2 separate regions of the Homo sapiens genome follow, and region 2 is linked to region 1. Evidence: promoter capture Hi-C in human tissues and cell types (Jung and others, 2019). All regions are on one chromosome and are shown on one strand. Each heading gives the region's core, a stretch centred on a gene start or on the middle of the fragment in contact. The rest is flanking DNA. Distances are from core to core; before and after follow the strand shown.

The links. The method cuts DNA at HindIII sites, captures the fragments that hold promoters and counts their contacts. A contact is called where the count stands out against the background at its distance.
Region 2: a contact is called between the fragment with the promoter of PDE1B here and a fragment that was not itself captured in region 1, in 1 of the 25 tissues and cell types used here (adrenal gland).

Annotation. Positions count from the first base shown.
Region 1 is chr12:54,957,629-54,964,074 of GRCh38, reverse strand. It overlaps TESPA1 (thymocyte expressed, positive selection associated 1), which reads left to right. Exons shown (of 11, transcript NM_001136030.3): 8 at 125-333; 9 at 833-1,644; 10 at 2,808-2,907. The coding sequence ends at 2,906. Among named protein-coding and RNA genes, the nearest start is that of TESPA1, 24 kb to the left of the region's middle. RefSeq lists an enhancer at 4,705-4,754. The HindIII fragment of the contact is 3,973 bases long and covers 357-4,329 here.
Region 2 is chr12:54,545,769-54,552,214 of GRCh38, reverse strand. PDE1B (phosphodiesterase 1B) reads right to left here and starts at 2,614. Exons shown (of 16, transcript NM_000924.4): 1 at 2,443-2,614; 2 at 2,230-2,355. The coding sequence starts at 2,342. It overlaps NCKAP1L (NCK associated protein 1 like), which reads right to left. Exons shown (of 31, transcript NM_005337.5): 31 at 3,972-6,446. RefSeq lists enhancers at 1,436-2,064, 5,212-5,756 and a silencer at 2,630-2,689. The HindIII fragment of the contact is 5,954 bases long and covers 1,665-6,446 here.

The DNA.
Region 1 (6,446 bases), core at 1,094-3,593:
GAAAAGTAGAGAAATGGACAGAAAAGAATTTCAGTCTTCTGACACTTTTATTAGATATTCTGATATTCTGAATTACCATGTGTCTCAAAGTTGTCCCTTATTTACCCAAACTCCCTCATTTCAGCATCTCAGAAATTCTGGACAAAGTGCAAGAAGATGCAGAAGATGTCCTCTTCAGTCTGGGCTTTGGCCAAGAGGATCACAAAGACACTTCTCGGATACCCGCCCGATTTTTCACCACCCCCTCTCAGGCCAAGGGCATTGATTTCCAGCTCTTCCTGAAGTCCCAGGTGCGGAGGATTGAAATGGAAGACCCCTGCCTCATGCTGGCCAGTGAGTGTCCCTCCCAGGCACCTGCTCTACTTCCCTTTTCCTTTAGATTTTCACAGCAGGGCTCAGTGGCTTCAAATCCTGCTTTCTCTTGGTTATCTTTAACCCTTTGCCTATTGTGTCTATTTCCTCTTATGTTGTCTTCAGTGAAGATGGAGAACTCTGTCTGATTCTTTCTCTTAAAGAAATAGCCTTTAAGAGACTTCAGGCCACTACTGCTTCCTTTAGGCCTTCTTGCCTTTCAGTCAATCATATCAGCATGATGTCTATAAATCTTATCCCTCTTTTTTGTTTCCCAGTTGGAATATCTACATGGGATGGGGTGTCAAGAAGTTACGAAATTCCAGAAAAAGAGTGTTAGAAATCTAAAAGGGAGAAACACTAGTAGGAAAATTGGAAGCTTCTCCCTGAATTTTGAGCTTTGGGGAGCCTCCTGAAGGGAGAGATTTAAGAAGATTTGCTGATGAACCCCAGACTTACCATCTTTAACTCTTGTACCCAGGCAGGTTTAAGCAGGTGCAAACACTGGCTGTCACTGCTGATGCCTTCTTCTGTCTCTACTCCTATGTGTCTAAGACACCTGTCCAAAAGTTCACACCATCCCACATGTTCTGGAATTGCAACCATCCAACTGATGTGCCATCCATCAGGATTCTGTCCCGAGAGCCTGAACCCCAGTCACCCAGAGACCGCCTTCGGAAAGCCATCTCCAAGATGTGTCTGTACACATGCCCCCGAGACCGGCCACCACCACCCCACAACACCCCCAAAAGGAACAGTTTGGACCAAGTTGTGTTGGAAGTGATGGACAAAGTGAAAGAAGAGAAGCAGTTCCTCCAGCAAGACTCTGATTTGGGGCAATTCTCACAGGAAGATCCTGTGCCCCCTGCTGAGGGTAAGAAGTTGCCCACTTCTCCCTATCCATGTGTCTTCTGCTGTGAAGAGGAAACACAGCAGAGGATGTCCACAGTGCTAGCACCATCCCAAACTCTGGATTCGAACCCCAAGGTACCCTGTTGCACACATTCTCTGCCCATAGAAGATCCACAGTGGAGCACAGACCCAGCTCAGATAAGGAGAGAGCTGTGTAGTCTACCAGCCACCAATACGGAAACCCATCCAGCCAAGGATGAGACTTTCTGGAAAAGAAAGAGCAGAGCAAGAAAGAGCCTCTTCCAGAAGAATCTCATGGGCAGGAAGGTTAAGTCCTTGGACCTGTCCATCACCCAGCAGAAATGGAAGCAGAGTGTAGACAGACCAGAACTGCGTCGGTCTTTAAGCCAGCAGCCACAGGACACTTTTGACTTGGAGGAGGTAAGTGGGTTGGAGGTGAGGGAGAGACTGGCAGAGAAAGGCTGTAGATTCTTTCCCAGAAGATGAAGGGTTAGAACCCTTGGGGGAAAAATAATCCAGGCTTCCTGTCCTAGCCAGATATACCACTTTCTGATTTCAATTCAGGGTTAATATACAGGGAGAAAGAGACAGAGGCCTGGTTTCCTAAGAGCAGTCGAGTTTTCAGAGCTCCTTTGGTAATACCTGATCTGATTGCCATTTAATGTTCCCATTAAGTACACCTCTCATCACCATTTGTTGTGGTCCTCATGAGATTACAAATGGAGAGCAGTTTTACACAAAGCTAACCACTCTTAAATAAAATAAATTCTCCCTTACCTTGACAAATATCTAACCATAAAGACCCAGAAGTCCAGATTTCAATCTAGGATTCTCAGACTGTTAGGACTTCTGTGCTAAAATGTGACAGTGTGAGCAGAACCACTCCCCAGCTCCTGACCTGTTCCCTTATCTTCCAGTGCCCAGACCTGTCCTATACCATAAGGGACCTTGCATGTCCATGTTTGGTTACCCGAGCCTGCACATCCAAATGCCACAAGCTCCCACCTACACAAAGAGCCATTGGTCATCATTTGGGCCTAGGCTGCATACACTACTGGAGAGGTCAGCCCTTGAGAGAACAGTCATCAGGCAAAACCAGCGCACATTCCTGCAACCGGCTTGGGGCCATTTGACCAGCAAACTTTGTGATTCTGGGTAACCAAAGAATGTTCTAGAAGGAATAGTGCAGGACTAGGTGGGCACATTCTCTAAGTCCACCAACTCTTCGTGTTCTCTAAGTCCACCAACTCTTCTGACCCTCTAAGACTCAGAACTCCTCTCGCCTGGGTCTATGGAAGATACTTCCATGAAGTGTTGGGATCTCTTTAAAAAGCTTTTAAATCCTTGCCACAAAAAGAAGCCGTGATTATTTGAAATATCATTTGCATGTATGTCACCTCTCCTTGAATGTAGAGCTACACCTCCGCTCCTGCCTTCCTCATTACTGTGTCCCTGACACCACAGAAGAGGCTGTCTCTCAAGTACACTCAGCCTCCTTCCCCTACAGCTACCTGCCACCTGCACCTTTCCTTACCCCCTTTCCCCCTTGGCTCTGGCTGAGTTCTGTGGGATCTTGGTTACAGGTGCAAAGCAACAGTGAGGAGGAGCAGAGTCAGAGTCGCTGGCCCAGCAGACCCAGGCACCCCCACCACCACCAGACTTTTGCTGGCAAAGACTCGTGAAGTAAGTGGGCCTCTCTCAGGCAGTTCTCAAACCTGGCTGCACATTGTAATCAAATGAGGAAGGTTTTTTTTTTTTAAACCCATAATAAAGGGTCCCACATTCTGTAATTCTGATTTAATTGGAAACCAATGACTAATTATTTTAAGCTTCCAGGTAATTCTATTATGGCTGGAAAATACCTCTCTAGATCAATGATGCCCAGGCTTTGGCAGGCATCACAATCACCTGGAGGGCTTGTTAAAATACAAATGACCAGATCCCAGCTCCCAGAGTGTCTGATTGAATTGGCCTGGATAGAACCAAAGAATTTGCATTTCTAAGAAGTTCTCAGGTGATGCTATTGCTGCTGGTCTGGTAATCACAGTCTGAGAACTGCTGTTCCAGGAGACATTGTGTAGAACTTTAATATTCAAACTGTAGTGTACAGATACAAGGAGCATCAGCATCCCCTGGGATTTTGTTAGAAATGTGGACTGTCAGCCCCCACCCCAGACCTAATGAATCACAGTTTTACCAAGATCTTTAGGTTAGATAATTGATTGCATATTGAAGTTTGAAACTCATTGTAGTAGAAGTTTTGTAACAGGTGAGGACCAGCCATGGAAATCAATATCCCAACACCTGCTTTCAGCTATGTTCTAATCAGCCCACATCATTGAACTCAGAGCAGACTCCTCAATGTACCTCACAGCTATGCTCATTTAGGGTCTGAGCTCCCTTCTGCAACTGTGGTCTGATGAAGGTAGCTCTCCCTCCCCTCCTCAAAGCAGGAAATGAATTTCACATTGTTATTTATTGCAGCTAAAATTTCTTTCCTCCAGATATGAGTTTTTCAGTATTAATTTTTTCAGAGATATCTCTTATACCTTTAAATAGTTTGGCCAGTAATTTATTATTTAAACTAATGAAAATTAATCTTTCTGTAGTTTTAACCACCTATCTGCTACAACCACAAAGAAAATGGCATAAGGGATAATGGTATTTTCCCCAGATAGTATAAATTAAAATCTTTATTGAATTAAGTAAATAAATCTTGCTTAGAGATTCCTTTATTTTGGATATCTTGGTACCATTTTCTACATTTTCTAGTCTAATTGTTTTCTTAGTTAATACTCCAAAATTTCAGTGGTACTTGCTCAGACACACAAAGATATTTACAATTCTAACTGTTTTAATTCTAATTCTCTGTGGTTTTAGGAATCTAATCACTCTTGTTTCTCTCTTACCTACTACCTACATCTCAGGGTATATGAATCATATGTATGTATTTAGTCACAAAAGAGGTAAATAGCAGAAGGCATCAATATGTCATATGCACTTCAAGAAGTTTCAGATGGTTTCAGTTGCTGGTCTGGCATGTTAGGAGCTAGAAGCGGCCACTCCACCCAAACAACAAGTAAAAACCTGAACAGACTGAAAAATTAGTAACCGTTCTAGACCCATCAGAGAAGTGGGTCACAGGGCAAACCACTTCTCCTCAAATTAGAGAAATAGGCAAATGCAAAGATTTATGACTTGTTAGAGCAAAAACCCCAAAGCATAAACTCCCCCAGGAATCAGAACCACGGTAGAGAACCCGGACAATAACCGAGGAATTACTGGATGCTCAGCATGGACCAGTCTGAGAAATAAAAACTCTAGGGAGACCCAGTCATTGGGAGGCCCCTTGTTTCTGGGAGTCTTACTTCTAGGAGCTCAACCATGTTCTCACAGGAAATACTGGAGAAAAATCCCCTAGTGTTTCCCGCAGGGGGCGGGAGAAAGGAACCATTTTGAAATGCAGCAGAGCATTCTATTCCTCTTAACAAAGTCTTCCCTCGGGAGAAACTAGATACCAAAAACCTAACCGGATGAGGTTTTATCAGAGACTAACCGACCTGAAGGAAGGGAAACACCCAACTCCTGCCTACTCTAGCCATCCCGTCCCATTAAAGGGGACAGAGAGGATGAGAAGCACAGGTGAGAGTCACAATCCAGAGGCACAGTCTCACTGGAAGACTGAGACCTAACCATAAGACCATGGAACGCTTCCCTTCTCCCTAAACCTTACCACCACATTACTAAAAGCCTATTTACATCAATTTCTTTTACTCAGTACATCGCGTCCAGTTGTAAAAAAAAGACATAGTAAAAGGCAAAAACAGGTTGAAGAAACAGAGAAAACGTTAAAACCAGTCTCAGATATGACAGGGATGTTAGGATTATCAAACTGGAAATTTAAAACAACTAAAATGATAAGGGCTCTAATGGATAAAGTAGTCTGTGCGCAAGAACAAATGAACAGAGAGATGGAAATCCTTAGAGTAAAAAAAATGCTAGAGATAAAAAATGGTGTCACAGAAATGAGGAATGCCTTTGATGGGCTTATTGGTGGACTGGACATGGCTGAGGAAAGAATCTCTGAGCTTGAGACTATAGCTATAAAAACCACCAAAACTGAAAAGCTAAGAGAAGACTGAAAAAAATATAAGAGAATATCCATGAAATGTGGGACAGTTACAAAAGGTGTAACATATGCATAATGGAAATTCCAGAAGGAGAAGAAAGAGAGAAAGAAATAAAAGAAATATCTGAAACAATAATAATTGAGAATTCCCCCAAATGAATGTCAGATACCAAACCACAGATCCAGAGAGCTCAGAGAACACCGAAAAGAATAAACACACGCACAAAAAAACGCAAAAATCTACACCTAAGCTTATAATTTTTAAACTACAGAAAATCACAAGTAAAGGGAAAAATCATAAAAGAAGCCAGAAGGAAAAAACACCTTACCTATAAAAAAACAAAGATAAGAATTACATGCAACTTCTCCTCAGAAAATGTGTAGTATATACTCCACAAGTAGGTTCTTGCCAAGAATTGAATTTACTCTAAAATGCAACACTTTGCTTAAGTGTTGTTTGTCCAGCAGATGTCAGCCTTGCACAAGAAAAAAAATGCCAAGATGTTCCACAAAGCAGGCTGTGTGCAGGATTTATATGGTTATACATTCCTGGGCAATCTATGCAATGCAATGCCCAGAACACAAGTTCCTCTCACAAACCTGTCCCAACTTTGTCTAAAGGTCAGTATTTTAAAATATCAGAATTGAATTGCTAGGGAGAAAGTATTGCTAGGAGTCATACATTTCAAGTACCTAACTAGATTCCATTTTCTGCCAGTGATGGGGCTTCATTACAGCAGGAGAGGCAATGGTTTAAAATGCTGTATTTTATTGATTCTAAGGCACACATTTTTCCACATTTTAACATCTCTGAAATTAGGTTGTGCCTTAAAATTCATAGTGTCAGCCAATTTAGTTGTCTTTTTTTGCCTCCTTAAGTGGAATGTAAAATAATTATGAGTCTTACAAAAAATGGTTTATGATCATCAATGAAATAGCATAACTTTATAAATTAAATGCACTTTTTCTCTCAAGTAAGTTAGGAAAATATTTTGTGATTTTTTTCTATGATTACCTAGAAGAATAAGAGATCTCTTCTTTCCTGACGCAGTCTTTGGCTGAGGAAGGGGTCACAGTAGTTCCCAAATTTTTC
Region 2 (6,446 bases), core at 1,365-3,864, 410 kb after region 1:
TTACCCAGCAAAGCCCTAAATCCTTTTATTTCCCTTCATCTGATAGTCAAAGCCTCCCCAATATTCAAAAAGGCAAAATCCAGTAGGCCATCAACATAGATCAAGTTGGGATCTACCTTGATTTCAAGGTCTTTCTCTGCTTTAAGGACGTAAGACTGGGAATCTATTCCTGCCAATTAATAATCCGGAGATTGTACTTTTTTGGGTAAGTTATATTACATGTAGCTAGCTTTATTTTTTACTTGTAAATTTATTGTACAAAGCTAGCATTCTTAAGGACCAGACTGCTGAAGTGAGTGAAGACCAGAATGATCTAATCAATAAGAATAGGGATCCTTGTCCACCCTAATCTCATGTAAGGACATCTCAGCTAAGGCACTCTGGAGAGACAGATGCCTCTACTCCCTTCTCTTCCCAGGTTTCATGCCTCCTTCTGGGAATCCTCTTCTCTCACCACTGAGCACTTCTCACACTAAAGGAAGAAACAACAATTCATTTTCAGGAAAGGCTTTTGGTTAGAAATGTGTGGGAGATAGTGAAACTAGTAATACCCACTCTTTCGCAGGGCCCTGTTACCTGGAATACAGGCAAGGTAAGTATGATGAGCCACTAGTGTTAGGGGAGCCATCCTGAATTCTCCCATTTATGGACCTGGGGCCCTTCTTTACCTTTCAACTACTTCCTTATCTGCCCCTTTCCCCAGCTCATTTACCATTAACGCAGCGTCATTTTCTATCAAGAATCACACAGTGCTCCTCCCAACAAAAATCAGTTCAATCTGGTTTTCCATTTCTTCATCCCAGAACTCATTCCAAGGCTGTGCTTCATAGAGCCCAGCAAATTGGATTGGCCAGAGGCAGCCAAGGAGGAGGACTGAGAAGTACATTTGGATTCCAAGCCTTGTTGCCCACTATGCCTCAGTTCTCCCTAACGCCTCTCCAAGTAGCTAGTGTATAAATCAGACCCATCTGCCATAAAAAGGTGTCATCTTATCACCATAGGTGAAGTATTTAAAGAACAATACAACATAAGCATCTATCCATCCCCTACCCCCATCTCTCCCTCTCCCAGAACCCAGAAATAGAAAGCTTCGGTGCTCACTATGGAGAACATTGAGGAGGAACTGGGTTCAGGGCTATGTTTACTGTGTTTCCTCTCTAAACATCCATAGTCTCCTATCTGTTTCCTCTTTCCTGGGGCCATGGATTCATCTCGGAGAGAGGGACATCTTCTCTTGTTCCCTGATTAAGAATCAACAGACTGCGGAGATTTCCCAATGGCAGCAGCTGACTGGGAGATAAACATGGTGCATGGCTTGTCTTTGACCCAATCCTCTTTTTTTTCTAAGGAGCAGGGGAAAAGTTCCTTTCCTCCCCTGGGACTGGAGTATCAGATACCTGAGTTCTTCCTTCCCCCATTTATTCCTCCCCACATGCCCTGGTACTGCAACAATAGGAAAAGATGCCCAAATGTGCTTGGAGATCCTGGAAGACCCTATATAAACAAAAAGCCTCTGATTAAGCCAGTTACCTTGCCTTTGTCAATCAATATTTCTTCACCATCATCACCTCCTTCAGCTTCCAGGTGGGGGCTCCAACCCCCCCTCCAGATTCCACGTGGGTCCCCTCATCATTAATACATAGAGTGAGTTTCCAGGCCCCAAGAGATGAGCAGCTCAGGCATGGGGTAACCCCCACCCCACTTCCTGTGCATGAGGCAGAAACTACCAATCCCAACTGAGATACATATGACCCACAGGTTGGCACAAGTATTCCCATGCAGTAGATCTACAGCTGTGTGCAATCACTCCACATACCTCTGTGACCCACGCTCACTCATGCACACACATGTCATGTGGCTCACATCTGCACAACTCTGCACATGGATATGTGTGAGTCAGCCTGGCACCTCTACTGCCCTCCTGCAGCCCTGCCACACTGCATATACTGTGCTGCCTCTAGGCGCTGCGTGTGTCAGCCTGGGGTCCACAGGCACAGGCACATCGTTACCTTTGCAACTCCTAAGCCCGCTCCAACTGGCCAGCTTGCTCCGCACATGCCTTGCACATGTGGCCTGGCCACGCGTGTCAGGGCCGTGCTTCCTCGCACCTGCCAACATCTGTGCCAAAGAGAATCTACCAGCCCACAGCCCTGCTCCAGTTATCCCCCCTCCTCCTCCCGCTCAGGCTCCCTAAGGTCCCTTCCCCCCATTCCCGGGCCGGGGACTTACAGAGACCGAAGCTTAATCCACATCTTCTTGCTGGGGGCTGACTTCAGCTCCAGGGGTGACGGGCAATCCGACTCCTCCAGCATCTCCGGAGGACTGCGGGGGGACAGCTCCATGCTCAGCCACGGTCTACGGAACAGAAGGAGGAGACAGCACCTCGGCTCAGCTTCAGCCCCAGCCGAGAGACCCTCACCCCCCATCCCAGGCCCTTCCCACCTGCGGCTGGCGTGGACCAGCCAGGCCGGTGTCTCTAGGCTCGGCCCAAGCTGGCAGAGCTGCAGCTCCTGCGGCTCCTCCTCTCCCGCTGCCCAGCCGAGCTTTGGGCTCCCAGTCCAAGCTCTCCGCACCGCCGCTGCTGCTGCCGCTACCGCCGCCGCCGCCGCGCGCTGCCAGAGCCGCCTCCTCGCCTCTCTCCTCCTCCCCCGGCCGGGTTCCCCCCTCCCTCTGCTCTCCCTCCCTTCTCCTCAGCCTGCCCGCCAGTCTCTCACTCCTCACAGCCACTCCTCCCCCTCCCAAAGGAACGATTGGAAGCCGGGGGCACACACAGACAGAAGCGCCCAAGGGCGAGCGCACGCACACAGGCGCCGGGGACGAGTGGCTGCGTGTGCCCTGTACTGGCGGATGTGAGTGCGTGTTTACAGAGTGCAGCGGAGGCGGCGGGCTGGACTTCGGTGTGGGTGGTTGTGTGGGTTCTCTCCGTGTGTTTTGAGTTTCTGTGTATGTGGTTGTGGTTCCATGTATCCACGTGTGCCTAGCTGCCTGCGTGTCCCATGTCTGAGTGCGGGGTAGGGGATGAGCACACATCTTTCCCTGCTAGATCTGGACTCGGAACCCAGTCGGACCAGACCCCACCTGTGCTCCTGTCTTGGAAAAGTTCAGGGTGTGCCCTGAGCTGTGATGGCATCCCACACTTGGCCTCGGGTCCCTCAGCTTGATCTTCCCCACCTGTCTCCAAGACTGTGGCCTTCTCCATGGTACTTCTGCCTGCCCGCCTAGCAGATAGGAATTTCTTCCAAGTTCAAAGCTCTCCAGAGCAGGCATCTTTTTTTTTTTTTTTTTTTTTTTTTTTTTTTTTGAGAAGGAGTCTGTGTCGCCCAGGCTGCAGTGCAGTGGCGCGATCTCGGCTCACTGCAACCTCTGCCTCCCCAGTTCCAGCGATTCTCCTGCCTCAGCCTCCTGGAGTAGCTGGGACTACAGGCGCGGGCCACCACGCCGGCTAATTTTTGTATTTTTTAGTAGAGATGGGGTTTCACTATATTGGCCAGGCTGGTCTCCAACTCCTGACCTCGTGATCCGCCCACGTCGGCCTCCCAAAGTGGTGGGATTACAGGTGTGAGCCACCGCACCCAGCTTAACATCTTCTTCTTTGACTAGGTAATAACTCTACACAGCCAGGAAAGCATTCCTGATATCAAAACCCCTCCTGAAGCACTTCCAGCTCATTTTTTCTGTTCTGTCTTCAGAGAAAGAAATCTAGGAGCTAAAGGCCCAGCACAAAACAGCCTAGCTGGTTAATAAACATTTGTGGAAGGAGTGAACTGGAATTTGAACTCAAGACCTTGTAAAAGGGCAAAGCCTCCTCCATCCAACCGAGTCCTACCTAGGACTCTTGCAGGAACCACCTCTCTTGCTCCATATTGTTCTCTCCCTTAATGACCACCTGCTTTGGCATTGGGGAAACTCCTATGTCAACAGAAAGTGGAGATATATTCACTAACTACTGAATCCAAAACAGGCCACTAATCCAGGATCCCAGAATGTGAATTTTAATTTCAAAAAATTCTGGAGGTTGGAAGGAGGAGTGATCAGGAGAAGGTATTTACTCTGTTCTAAATACTGAGTGGAGGCTCCTCCTCTCCCAGTCAGAGAAGGAGAAAAGAAGTGAAATGGAAGGGCGAAGAAGCGGATGAACTGTCACAGCTAAGACTCCTAACATAAAAGAATTGCCAAGTTAGGTCAGCATTTAGATTCAGCAGAAGTATCAGCAGAACCAGCTCCCAGAAAGTACAGAGGCAGAAAGAGATGGCAGAGTCAGAGATGGAGAAAAAAGTGGAAATAATAAGGGACTTCCCACCCTCTGTCCATCTACCTTTAGCACACATCCCTTGGCTTTTCCCCAGACCCAGCCAAGAAATGGCTGCATCTGAGACCCTAGTCACACTCCTACACAGTCCATTTCTGAAAATTTGGGAGCAATCTCCTCCTTATCAACTGAAAATGAAATGGGCTGGAAACTACAAAAGAATTGCAAATTAGGATGGTGCTAAAGAGCTCTAATTAGTAAATTAGGATTAGAGCTAAGGAGTTTCCAAATTTAGGCAGGTCTTTAAACTAGAATAGGTGGGAAAGAGGCAAGACATACATCCAGAGGGCTCTCTCAACATTTCTTGTTAACACAGTGTCACATCCTGCTCTCCCAAGACCCCCTGCTCCTGATTCATTTTAAGGCTAATTCACACACACACACACACACACACACACACACGCACACACACACAAAGTTATTCGTGAAAGAGACATTAGAGTTCATCCACTCTAATTCCCTTCATTTAATAAATGGGAAAACTTCATAGACAACACAGTTTGATGGAAAAAGTAAAAATAAAAATAAATGAGAACTAAACTAACCCAGAAAAATTATAGGGTCTCACAGAGAGTAAGTGATAAAACCAGAGCCAAGTCTATCAGCCTTTTTCACTCTGTGGCTCCTTTCACTTTCTTTAGTCACCAGTCCTGGTGTTTAGTCTCAACCTCATTCCTCTTGTTGCAATACAATCCCATTTCTACCTTGCTGCGTCTCTAAACAGATAAGAATTGGGTATACTTGTTCCACTCTGAGGCTCAAAAGACAACTATTCTCTCCCTGTCTTTTCCTCTTGTCCTCATCCCCCACCTTTCCCAGGCTCCTTCTCATTCCTCTCCTTTTCAGCTTCTAAACTGCCCCCTACCCCTAGGAGGCTCTGCCTCCTCACTCCCCTAACCCCACAATCCTTTCCAACAAGCTTTGAGTTTGATAGAAACCAAAAATGATGCTTTGGCAGTAGGTGACGGATGGATGTGATCTGCCTCCTACGGGAATGCTATTTAAAGGGGCAGCCTCACAATCCTCTCCTTCCAAAGTGACAAGAGAAAAGTCTGCTCCTCAATCTCTCCAGAGCTGCAAACTCAGCTCAAGTTAACTTCTGACTTCCTCAACCTGCAACCTGGCCTGCTGCTCCTGCTTCCTATTCAAGTGGGAGGGAGAGTACTTGACAACTCATTGAGGTGTGGGGGCTGAAGGGGGATTCATCTTCATCTCCTTTGATGACAGGTACTTAGGAGAAGCAGGAGGCCCTGTGGGGAGGAGGACTGGAAGAACACTCTTCCCCCAACCGCGTGAGTGCATTTCAGCCATGTGCCAGCTTCTTCTCAAAGTCAAACTTTGTTGGAGAAGAACTAATATAAGCATGAGGACCTAAGGTTAAGGAAGCCTTGTCCCTAGCTGGGGGACACAGATATACCCTCCCTCCCTCCTGGATCCTGGTATTCACAGCACAGTTGTTCCCTTCCTGCAAAGCAAAGTGCTACAGGGCATCATCCCCTTGGCCAGGCCCTGGACCTTCTGCATTTTTTTTTTTTTTTTTTTTTGTGAGACAGGATCTTGCTCTGTCACCCAGACTGGAGTGCAATGGCATCATCTTCGCTCACTGCAACCTCTGCCTCCCGGACTCAAGCGATCCTCCCCACCTCAGCCTTCCAAGTAGCTAGGACTACAGGCAGGAACTACTACGCCCAGCTAATTTTCGTATTTTTTTGTAGAGACGGAGTTCGCCATGTTGACCAGGCTGGTCTTAACCTCCTTAGCTCAAGAGATCCACTGGCCTCAGCCTCCCAAAGTGTTGGGATTACAGACAACAGCCACCATGCCCAGCTAATTTTTTGTATTTTTGGAGAGACAGGGTTTCACTGTGTTGCCCAGAGTGGTCTCAAACTCCTGAGTTCAAGCGATCCGCCTGCCTCCCAAAGTGCTGGGATTACAGGGGTGAGCCACCACACCCAGTTCCTTCTGCACTTTGAAGCTGGCCCACCTGCCAACTGGATTGAACACCATGGCAGGGGAGGCAGTGTTTCTACTGTCCAAACAAAAGGGGGCACCTATGCAAGTATCTTGCCCCAGGCCTTGTGGGAGGCATAATTCCATCTCATTGCTGCAAGCAAGTTAATGGAGATGTTAATAAAAA